Regions from separate parts of the Homo sapiens genome. Here region 1 is linked to region 2. The links are contacts of gene promoters, found by promoter capture Hi-C in human tissues and cell types (Jung and others, 2019). All regions are on one chromosome and are shown on one strand. The core of a region is centred on a gene start or on the middle of the fragment in contact, and the rest is flanking DNA. Distances in the headings are between cores, read along the strand shown. Region 1 overlaps RAPGEF4 (Rap guanine nucleotide exchange factor 4). Region 2 holds the start of CDCA7 (cell division cycle associated 7).

Region 1 (5,503 bases), core at 1,038-3,537, 320 kb after region 2:
AGGCCAGGGATGCTCCTAATTGTCCTGCAACAGAGAAGACGTCTCCACGACCAAGAACTGTTCTGCTCCAGATGTCACCAGTGCTGAGGCTGAGAGAGTGTGTGTGCTCCAGGTAATTCTCATTTGCTTCATCTCAGCTTGATCTTCCCCCTCAGTTTTGAACCCTTCCCTTTATTGTGTGCTCTGGCTTTCCTTTCTATTTTATTCCGTGGCTGTTCCACACGTGTCCCCTAGTTCCATGAGGCCAGGCAGCATTTCTCACACTGCTCTTGTGGTCACTGTGGTGCTCAATGGAGTTGCATGGGAGGCTTTTGGGAGGTTTTCTCGGCAAGTGCAGGTACATAAACTAGAATCAAAGGTGCTTAGGAATGAAATCTCCCATACAGAATTATATAATTATACTTCACCTTAAAAAACAAAGGCTTATAAATGATGAAAGGATAATTTCCTCTTTTCAGCAACATTCAGTGCTGAAAACAGAAGCTCATAGACTCACAGAACTCCCATCCCTAGTGAAACCAAAGGACTGGCCAGTTAGCTATCTCCTTTTGCTGCCTGCACCCTCTTCAGCAGCCTCCTACTTTTTTATTTAGACTGGGAAAGAGGGTTCAGAGAGTGTTTCCCACATGCTCTGTTCTTATTGTCTGGCTGATCTGTGGTACCCACACCTGGCCTCCTTGGACCCTTTGAGGCTTTATGGTTTTTTAAAATGTCCCCAACCAACTAATTTGGACTCTGTGGCAGGGGGATTAGAAGCTGGTAGCTGACTGGGGAAGGCAGACTCTTTGCAGGAGGACCCTAGGTCTCCAGCAATCCCAAGAGCCTTGGACTATAAGACGAGGGAGTTGCATTATGGCTTTGTGCTTAGATCTCTTGGCAGCACGAGCTCCGTCCTTTTACTAGCTGGAAGATGATATAGCTGCATGGCACGCAGGCCTCACCAATTCCCTCATTCCTATATTCAGGGGATGAGCTGCTGTGTGCTGCATCTGCCTGGAATTTTAAGAGAAACCCAAGACAGAAGGACTTGTGAGGACCTGCCCTACAAACAATGGAAACATTTAGGAGGGACGGAAAAAGAAAATCATTGCAAGAAGGACATGGGGAAGAAAATAATTTCAGAAAAGCATTTAGAGATGCAAACAGCTGCCTTTAAGCACCATTGCAAGTTGGGTCTCTAATACATACTCCTTGCCCTCTTTCTGTGTCCCACTTACACACAATTTTTTATTTTTAGCATGAGTCTATTTCTGTATGTATGTTCTATTAGAGATTAGTATTTCTTCAACTATATGCCACGTGTAAGAGGTCAAGCACATTTTGAGTACAAAGCTAATAATAAATGAAGATGTTTTCTAGCTTGAATACCCAACTCTCGACAAACCATTCATTATATTTGCTACAGAGACTCACAACACACCTGCCTCACTTTTGCCCCAAACTGAATATTAGCCAACTGTTGTTCCTCTCCGTGGAGAGAAGTCTGCCAGGTGGTGAGGCGACACTTAGTACTCAACTGCTGCAAACAGTTGGCTTCCTGGCTCTTCCTTCCAGAAGCAAAATGAGTACTTGGATAAAAATGGATCTTCTGTCCTCTTTCAATTAAAGATAAGATTTATGGCAAAAGCAACAAGCAGACATTTCAGAAAACAATACAATCTATGAGCAAACTTATGAAGTCATTCCCAGCAATGTGGGTCCTTCATGTTATACTTAGGAACTGGACTTATTTTTATTTACATTGCATATATCAAGAAGTAGACATCTCCTCATCTCCCCCACTCTCCATACACAAAAGGACAATATCTTTTAAAAATTCTCCCTCTGAGGCAACTGGAAAAAGGAGACAGGTCACCTCCCTCCAAGTGTCCCACCTTTCCCATTGTTATACTAGTGTGAGTGATATTTCTATTAAAAAGCTCACTGGTGAGCCTGTGTTTTTATTCCTAAGGCAAAAGTCACAGCTGGATCCTAGCTGAAGCTTACCTCCCACGTTAGTGCCAAGCGGCTCACAGCAACGTTACTTAGTCCCATGACGATGGCAAAAAAGGAATTCAGATTTTTATACTCCTTACAGCTGAAACACAGGAGATGCGTGTTTGAGTAAAATGTTACTTCTGTGTGAGATAAAAAAAATTAGAGTTCTATTTTCTGATAGTCATTAATATTTGTCAGGGCTCATTTATGAGAACAGGCAATGATAGATTTAATGTACTGTAAAAGTTCCACTTGGGTGACCATGTTCTGCTGTTTGATTTCTCACTGTGTTTTTAGAAAGTTGAAGACGTTAGCCATTGAGGTTTGGGATCTGAGAAGGAACTTAAAGACACCTACCTTAGGGGTTGTTATTATAATCCCAAACTTGCTAAAAGCCTTGTTGGACCGAGAGGGAAATATCTCATGGGGTAAGAAAAAAAGTGAAGTGCCCTTGGAGATTTCTAGACCTTTAGCCTGAAGGTGGATATCCTCCTCTGGCAGCTTGAGAGGGCACTAAGGGAGTCTCACAGCTGCAGCCACCATGGCTTCTACCTGCCATGCAAATGCTACTTGTTTGTTGAAAAATATCAACTTATAAGGTGTGATCTCTATAGGCTGGGCACTCAATCTCAAGGAATTTTAAAGCTGAGAAGTAACCTAAACAACTGACCAAGAAATAACCTTCTCTGTGTTTTACTGACATCAATGAAGCTGATCATTTTGAATCTGTACTTACGCCATTATTAGCTTTTATGAATATATGTTTGGGAATGAGACATGTGGAAAAAAACAGAAATTCTTATTAGAATGGTGATGTTTAACACAGGTACTTGGTTTAACCATTTTTTAGAAAGAGAAACCCCAAACTTCTTCATACCAGGTCCCTGAAAAGGGAAAGAATTCATTTTGCAATACGCATAAATCCTTCATCCTGAATCAATATGGTTATCGAAATTGACCATATCATAATGAAATCCTGTTTGGATTAACATTTTTGAAAAAGACTAAATTGTTGCATTTGCTACCCATTGCAAAGGTAGCAAAGAGTAATTCTTAAATTGTCTGTGTGGAGATGGAGAACATATTTCAGAGAAGCTAGTGTGTATGGTCCCACTGGTGAGAAAGCAAGTGAGGCCTTTGGTGTGCTGGGACAATGGGTCTGAGTTCAGGAGCTGAAGGTTATTTAGAAGACACCTGGGGCTAAAGGCAGGTATACAATCGCATCTATGTGTTTGCCTCTGTCCTTTATGTGATCTTGAAAGAACAAATGCAGGGCTGTAGACCTGCCTTTCTAGTCACTGCCTTGTTATCAGCTAACTTTATTACCCTATGTAAGTCATGAAATTTCTCTATGCCTCCACGAATGTAAACAGAGGAATAAGAACATCTGCTTCCACCAACTTCACACAGTTCTGGGCAGGCAAAGAGCTTAAAACAAATATGTTGAAGTTCTCTAAAAATATAAAGTAAAACAGATGCTACTGTCACGAGGTTTCAACCTCATTCTTGTAGATCTCGGATTTAAAAAGTCTACAGTCTTCTTCAGCTGGGCTGTGTAAATAGCTTCTCTACAGGACGGCAAATGTAGCACAGGGCTTAATAATGGTTAAATAACATAAACTAATTTATACTGAAGGCCAAGTCCACCTACTCATTCACCTAAACAGAAGGGAGAGGGATAAGAAAAGCAAAAATATATATATATAAAAAAAAGTCCTGGGTGTTCTGAAAGGCTCTCCCATGTTGCCTCTGTAAAATAACAGGATCAGGCCCCAAAAGATTTTCTGGCTTCCCACATTTGTGTGCAGATTGCCTCTCTCTTCTTGTTGCATTGGGCACTGCCAGGCTAAGGTGAAGAGAGAGAGTGTGCTTCTTCTAACGGGAAAGCACATCTTGTCATAGTTTCCATAATCAGCTCATTCCAAATATGTGAAGGCATTTGTCCCTTGCCATAAGGCTGTGCAGACTACCAGGGAAGTGGCTATACTCTGAACCAGAAATTCACAGGCACCATTTTACCAAGCCTTTCTTAAAATAGCCAGCTTTGCCATATTAACAGATAGCAGCTTTTGAATCCAAGGGATTTGGTATTCTATTGAACCCTCAAGTTGTTGGCAAATAATTCCAGGCATCTGGCAAACTGATATCTATAAAATGTCAAGCAGCCTTTACTTCTTTGTTTAGCCCAGGAAATCAAACTCCATGTTTGATTTTGGGTCAAGAAAATTGTCTAGCTGGGGTCACTTGTGCTCTCAGCCTTCCTGTGTGCTAGAGCTCCCTGCATTTAGAAAGGAAAGAAGTCTCACAGCCATAGGCCACATTTAGCATTTTATTTTTAGCACTGTGGTGATACCAAAAACATGGAAGTAAACAGGAGGTTGTCAGGCATATCTAAATAGCAGGAGAAGATTAAATTCATGTCAGGGAGAACTCTAACTGGCCCCTGTAGTAAAAAAATTGTTTCCCATGAAGTGCTGTTTAATAGAATATTTATAAGATAGATGCTTCTTTTTCTGATGTTTGTAGTGATGATTTTCATGTACCAGGTTAGCTCGCATGCATTTTACCGATTTAATTCTGTCTGGGCTGGATGTGCTGCTGTACATGCATGCTGCACTGCCCTCTACTGGTGAGAATGTGTCATGCTGGACATTGACTTCAAGATCTTTTCAACTGAACTTTCGAAGTATAAGGGAACTTGGTTTACGGAAGGAATTTTAAACTAAAGGAGGCAAAACCGTCTGAGTAGAAAGCAAAGAGCAAAGAGAGGTCACAACTTCGACTCCAGCATCAGTGCTGTAAAGAAGTTAATTTATCTATTGATGTTAAATGCTACAAAATATAGGAGAGATCCATTACAAGAGTTTGGTTATTCCTAAGACCCTGTGTTTGGCCCTCTAGCAGTTCCTAGATCCTGCTTTTCTTTTTAAGGTGTAGTCTAAGAAAACAAAATGAAAACACAGCTCAACATTTTTTTTTCTCTTTCCAAGCTAAATATACTTACTGGGCTGCTATCTTAATAAATTTTTTTAATAGCTGAACACGCTTGCTGAGCTGAGAACAAAGGCAGATCTCAGTGACGACCCAAAACTGAATTTCATTAAATCTCCTCAGGAACAAATCCAAGTTTGCTGTGGTCTTTTTAAAATTATGCCTTCCAAATGTGTGATAGATTAGCTCCAGCTAGAAAATAAAGGAAAACAATTTTGCTTATTTTTTTTTAAATCAAAACACCAGCAGGTTTCTCTATTTGTCAAGACAGTGTTTTACTGGTCAGCAAATGTGAAGTCAATCAGACTTGAAGGGCTTCCATGAGGTTTGTTAAATATATAAATATAAACTAGGTTTTACTGGCTTAATATACACAGGAAGACACGGCATACTGTAAAGATTTTTCTTTAATACTCAAAGGCTTTATAGCATGCTTTATTTATAAGCTCAGTATGCAAAAAAATGGTCATGTGGTTTCCATATTGTAGCACATATTAGCACTTACAAACTAAGCAATGCCAGCAGCCTTTATCCT
Region 2 (5,981 bases), core at 2,018-4,517:
AAGCTCCGCCTCATGGATTCACGCCATTCTCCTGCCTCAGCCTCCAGAGTAGCTGGGATTACAGGCGCCCGCCACCACGCCCGGTTAATTTTTTGTATTTTTAGTAGAGACGGGGTTTCACCGTGTTAGCCAGAATGGTCTCAATCTCCTGACCTCGTGATCTGCCTGCCTCGGCCTCCCAAAGTGCTGGGATTACAGGCGTGAGCCACCGCGCCCGGCCAAAACCAGGTCAAATTCTAAGAAGGGATCCCTTTGCAGGAAAATTGTAAAGACATTTATCAATTTATTCAAACATCTGTAGAGCTACCTCTCAACCCACCTTTATGAGCCCCTAATCTTTAGCTCTTAGCATTATACTGAGCCCCACAGGAGATTTTAATGCTAAACTCCTAAAATCCAACCTGTTTTTTTAAAAAAATTAAACTGTACTTCTAAAAGGAAATTTCAAAAGTACAAAAGGGGAGAAAGATTTTTCTCCCTCAGCCAAAATCAAGCTAATGAGGTATTTTTATGTAAGCTTTGGGCTATGTACTGTGATGCTAATTTCACAAACTACAAAAACTGGGCAGGACCTCTACTTCAAGATGGCAGGCTTCCAAGCAGGCCCCTTTCCAATCAAGAGGGCTATCGTGATTTCCACAGAAGTCCTTACAAAGCAAATACATCAAACGCTTCAACAAATGGTACAAGGAGCCAAGTTAAAGATCAAATAGCACTCCAAATGCAGGTGGGATACCGGATTCCATTTTAGCACTCTATTACTTGAGGCTGTCATTCAGTTCTTGTTGCTGTCCCTTTGCTATACAAGACTTAAGTTTTTAAAAGTCCTTTTATAAAGTGCAAATTACTTACATAGAAATGCTTCATTCATTCATAAATACTGAACAGCCTGGCACTGCTCTCAGAAAATGTAATTGGCATCTATCTTGTATAAAAAAAGGATAGTGGTTTGTCATTTCTTAATATTTAACGAGATTTCCTAAGTGTTGCATTAGGTCCTGTGTTTTTATTCCTTAAATGGGGCCATGGAATAGCAGAAGTGATTCCTTACACTGAAAACTTTGAAAGGGCAAGCTCTGGTATAGATTCTACAAAATATGCTAAGATGTAAGATGTCAGGTGACCAGAACATTCTTGCCCTCCTTCTTGGCCTAACATTACGCATTTCAGTCTCTTGCAGATAAAGTTATTTTCATGATGATGGCACTCCCAACATCCCTATACCCCTAAGTAAACTCCGTTCAATCATCTTAGGAAGTTTTTGTCTTTTGCCCTCTTAACAAGGCAGGACAACGTGTAAAAGGTAGAGCTACTAAATATAAAGGTTAGGTGTATGTGTAGGGGGGTGGCTCACACCTGTAATCTCAGCGCTTTGGGAAGCCAAGGTGGGAGGATCACTTGAGCCCACGAGTTCGAGACCAGCGTGGGGAATATGGTGAAACCCCGTCTCTACTAAAAACACAAAAATCAGCCGGATGTGGCGGTGCGTACATGTAATCCCAGTTACTTGGGAGGCTGAGGTGGGAAGACTGCTTGAGCCCGGTAGGCTGCAGTGAGCCGTGACTGTGCCACTGCACTCCAGCCTGGGACACAATGAATGTTGGGAGCTGAAAAGGATCTCAGATCCCATTTTCCAGATGAGGATATTCAAGGCCCCAGGAAGGTGTAATAGACTGCAAGATCACAGGGGCAGGAAGGAGAACTCAAGTCTGCCATCTTCTTAAGCAGCAGTGTTCATCGCATTACTGCAGGAATTACCACCCTTTACTCATCAATCTACCTGCAAGCAGTCAGAGGCCCCAGACAGCCTCAAAGGCGGCATTCTATTGGAAGCTGTCCGAGAAATACAGGCTGAGCTTTAACAAGTCAGCACAAGCCAAGAGTTATTTACCAGGCAAACGTATCTTTGGAGGAAAAGCCACAAAAAAGCAGCAAGGCAAATAGTCAAGACGGAGATGAACTTCTTTGGCAGGTAAGTAATAACTAATACCATTTATAGTAGGCGTTTTTCGTGCCAGGCACTATGTTAAGTACACTTTCACGTCAGGTTTAATTCTTTGCAACAAAGGTGCTATCGTTATTCTCACTTAGCCAATGAGGAAACTGAGGCTCAGGAAAGCGAAATGGATTACTCAAGTCCCATGGTGGCTCAGATTTGAACTCAGGCATGTCAGGTTCCAAGACCAGCTACACATGGTTTTCTTCATCCGGAAAGCCAATGCCCAGCTCCACCGGGGCGGCGACTCAGCTCTGAAACCACGCCCCATCGCACCCACCCCCGCGAGGGTCCCTAACCCCTGATATTTATTTTAAACATGTCATTGTCTTCCGTTTCACCCAACCCCCACTCTTCTACCCTCTCCAGGAGCCCGACCCTACGTTCTGGCTTCCGTTAGAGCAAAAAGTAACGTTCCACTCAGAGCAACGTCCTGCAGCTAAGAGTAAGGCTGGGGGGTGGGGGGTGGGGGGTTGGGGGTTGGGGTGGAGGAAGTAGGAAACGAGCAAATGGTCGGCGAACGCTTTGACCCACCAAGCCCTTTAAATGCACTTAACCACCGCCCGGGACTACGGTCGCTTCACACTGCGTGCGCAGCCCAAGTTCTAGGAGACCGGTTCGCAAGACCTTAAACCTCAGACGCGCTGGCCCTCAGCGGTTAGAAGCGGACGCGTCTCTTGCCGGGCGGGGTGCGCGCCCAAGGGCCACCCACTGAGCGCGGGTATAGACGCGGCGAGCCACGCACTGGCTCCGAGTTGTGTGCGGGAAAGGGCTGGGCCGCTGCGGGACAACCTCCCAGGGGGCAGGCAGGCTGGCTCTGCCTGGCAGGCAAAATCGGGACCGGCCAGCGCTCCCGGCCGCTGTCCGGCCTTTGGCGGACGCACGTGCCTAGGGCTTTCCAGCGCTGCTAGCCATCCTGCAAACGACTCAAGTCTCCACGCCGCCCGCACTTCGGGTGCGCACGCCACGCAGGAACGTCCCCATGGCCCTCAGTTATCCCAGGTGCACAAAATCAGGGGCTTGCCCAAGCGGGCAACGCCTAGGCAGGCCACCAGTTAAGGCAGCGCTAGGCTGCGGAGTTGGAGAGGGTCGGCCCGCGCCCGCCTGCGTCCAGCACCCACCGCGCCCGCCCCTCGGGTTCGCCCGCCCAGCCCTCACCGGCACGCGGCGAGCGTCCATGCTGGTGGCGGGTGCCCAGATCGGCGCTTGGAGCGGGGAGAGCGGAGCAGCCGCGCGGTCAGCGGTCCCACAGCAGGAGGAGCAGCAGCAGCGCGGCTGGCAGGCTGGGCGCGCCGACCCGGGCCCGGAGGGGCGGGGCTCGGGCTGTCTTTCCCGCGTTGGGACACAGGTCCTGCAAGCTGTGGTAACGGCCAGACATGGCGCAAGACTAGGTGGCCCCCTGGAAAAAACACGACCCCCCTATATATTCTGACCTCAAAGGATAGCCTTGGGCACTCCTAAAATCCCCTTTGAGAAAGGGGGGCTTTAGGGGCTACGGGGACCACTCTCCTTGTGCAGCTGCGCGGTCCTGAGCGAGTGGCGCGAAAATGGTTCGTATTGCCCCGGGGTTAGCTGTCTGATTTGCAAGAATTTTCGTGGTGGCGGAGGAAAAGTGGAGTCTGGGGGGTAAAGGAGAGCAGCGTGAGGGTGGCGCGGGTCACGCACCATGGCGTTTAGCACTTTCATTGCTGCGTGCGGTTTACAAGATTTAAAAAATCATAGAATCCAGCACGAACTCCACCCTTCATAATCGAGTTCACCGCCCCTGGATGTAGCACCTCTTATCTGGGAACCACACCATTATCTGAAGCAATAAAATGAGTTAAATCCTGATCTTTCTTTCCAAAAAGCACAGGAAGCCGACTTGTTTACTTGTGGTTTTCAAAGTAGAAGAAAAGCCGCAGCAGCTTGATGAAGACGTCTATAGTATAGTTAACCTTTAACGATTATCTGTTGGGGATTGAAACTAAAGATTGAACAATTGTGGCTTGATGATCTTCTCTGTCTTCAGAATTGAGAACTACCCTGAGTCAGTGCGAACGAGAAAACTTTTCATTGCCCTTTTAACCAAACTTGGCATTACAACGAAAAAATGAAATAAAGCGAGGCTTTTTGTGTGCGTGAAGAGCAAAACTTGCTTCTACAAGAAAAAGTAAATTTAGTTTCTTTAGAAGACACTAATTATACTCTTAACATTTAAAACAAGCGCTTGAAATGAAAACATTCGCATTTCCCCCTCATTTCAAAACTTTTCTCTGGGGAATAATTAATTCCTTTGCAGTAAGAGAGTGCATGGACATACTGTGTTCCTCTCTTGGTGTACTGAATACAAAAACTGTGAGCAAGTAAATAATGCCCGAGGACAATGGATTGGAAGGAGTCTTCCAGCCTTTCTTAAATATACCTACCCAGTAATCACTCTGCCACTGTGCAAGGGACAAAGAGCTCAAGGTCTAGAAGGTGAGTGCCAGGAGGAGAGGCTATCGGTGGGTGGTGAAATTACGGAATTACAGGGCCCTCAGTAAGTATTTGTTGAATGAATAAACATTTGGGAATATAATTTTGTGCCACTAAAGCTAAATATATGAAAATTTGGAATTACTAGATCCATGAAGCAGGGGAAGATTAAGTCACTTTGCCTGTGAAAGGTTCTGATAGGGAAATTTTTAGTCTTCCTGGGAGCACAAGAAAATAATTTGGTGTATGTGTTTTTTAAGGATAAGATCTCTGGTCTATTCGTCTTTTTAGTAATCAGGAAAATGCAAATTAAAACAAGTGTCACTGGAAAGGGGTCCCGATCTAGACCCCAAGAGAGGGTTCTTGGATCTTGCACAAGAAAGAATTCAGGGCAAGTCCGTAAAGTGAAAAAGCAAGTTTATTAAGAAAGTAAAGGAATAAAAGAATGGCTACACCGTAGATAGAGCAGCCCGAGGGCTGCTGGTTGCCCATTTTTATGGTTATTTCTTGATTGTATGCTAAACAAGGGGTGGATTATTCATGGCTCCCCTTTTTAGGCCATATAGGGTAGCTTCCTGATGTTGCCATGGCATTTGTAAACTGTCATGGCGCTGGTGGGAGTGTAGCAGTGAAGACAACCAGAGGTCACTCTCCTCGCCATCTTGGTTTTGGCTGGCTTCTTTACTGCAGCCTGTTTTATCAGCAAGGTCTTTATGACCTGTGTCGTGTGCTGACCTCCTACCTCTTCCTGTAACATAGAATGCCTTAACCTCCTGGGAATGCAGCCCAGCAGGTCTCAAGGCTTATTTTGCCCAGCTCCTATTCAAGATGGAGTTGCTGTAGTTCAAATGCCTCTGACACAGGAGATACAATTTCACTCAGACTGGCAAAATTTAAAGCGCCTGATAAGACCAGATATTGTTAAGAATATGAGAAACTCCCACAATGATGTTAGTAGTGTAAATTTTTAACTTTGCAGAGCAATTTGGGAATAGAGGCGTACCTCATTTTATTGCACTATGCTTAAAATTAAAGGTTTGTGGCAACCCTAAGTATAGCAAGCTTATCAGTGCCATTTTTCCAAAAGCGCATGTTCATTTAGTGTCTCTGTGTAACGTTTTGGTAATTCTTGCAATATTTCACCTTTTTCATTATTTTTATATCCATAATGGTGATCTGCAATCTGATCTTTGCTATTACTGTTGTAATAATTTTGGAGAGTCACAAATTGTACCCATATAAGATGGCAGACTTCATCAATAAATGTTGTATGTGTTCTGATTGCTCCACTGACCAACCATCCTGTCTCTCTATCCTCATGCCCCCCTATTCACTGAGATAGAACAATATTGAAATTAGGCCAGTTAATAACTCCACAATGGTCTCTGAGTATTGAAATGAAAAGAAGAGTCACATATCTCTCACTTTAAATCAAAAGCTAGAAATGATTACACTTAGTGAGGAAGGCATGTTGAAAGCCGAGATAAGAAGAAAGCTAGACGTCTTGTGCCAAACAACCAAGTTGTGA

Evidence for each region. The method cuts DNA at HindIII sites, captures the fragments that hold promoters and counts their contacts. A contact is called where the count stands out against the background at its distance.
Region 1: a fragment that was not itself captured here is called in contact with the fragment with the promoter of CDCA7 in region 2 in 1 of the 25 tissues and cell types used here (thymus).

The regions. Positions count from the first base shown.
Region 1 is chr2:173,026,738-173,032,240 of GRCh38, reverse strand. RAPGEF4 (Rap guanine nucleotide exchange factor 4) reads right to left here. Exons shown (of 31, transcript NM_007023.4): 25 at 4,982-5,160; 26 at 1,987-2,077. Among named protein-coding and RNA genes, the nearest start is that of MAP3K20, 46 kb to the left of the region's middle. The HindIII fragment of the contact is 8,411 bases long and covers 1-5,503 here.
Region 2 is chr2:173,352,158-173,358,138 of GRCh38, reverse strand. CDCA7 (cell division cycle associated 7) reads right to left here and starts at 3,267. Exons shown (of 10, transcript NM_031942.5): 1 at 3,155-3,267. The coding sequence starts at 3,175. RefSeq lists a silencer at 3,056-3,325 and enhancers at 3,876-3,965, 3,268-4,223. The HindIII fragment of the contact is 8,581 bases long and covers 1-5,981 here.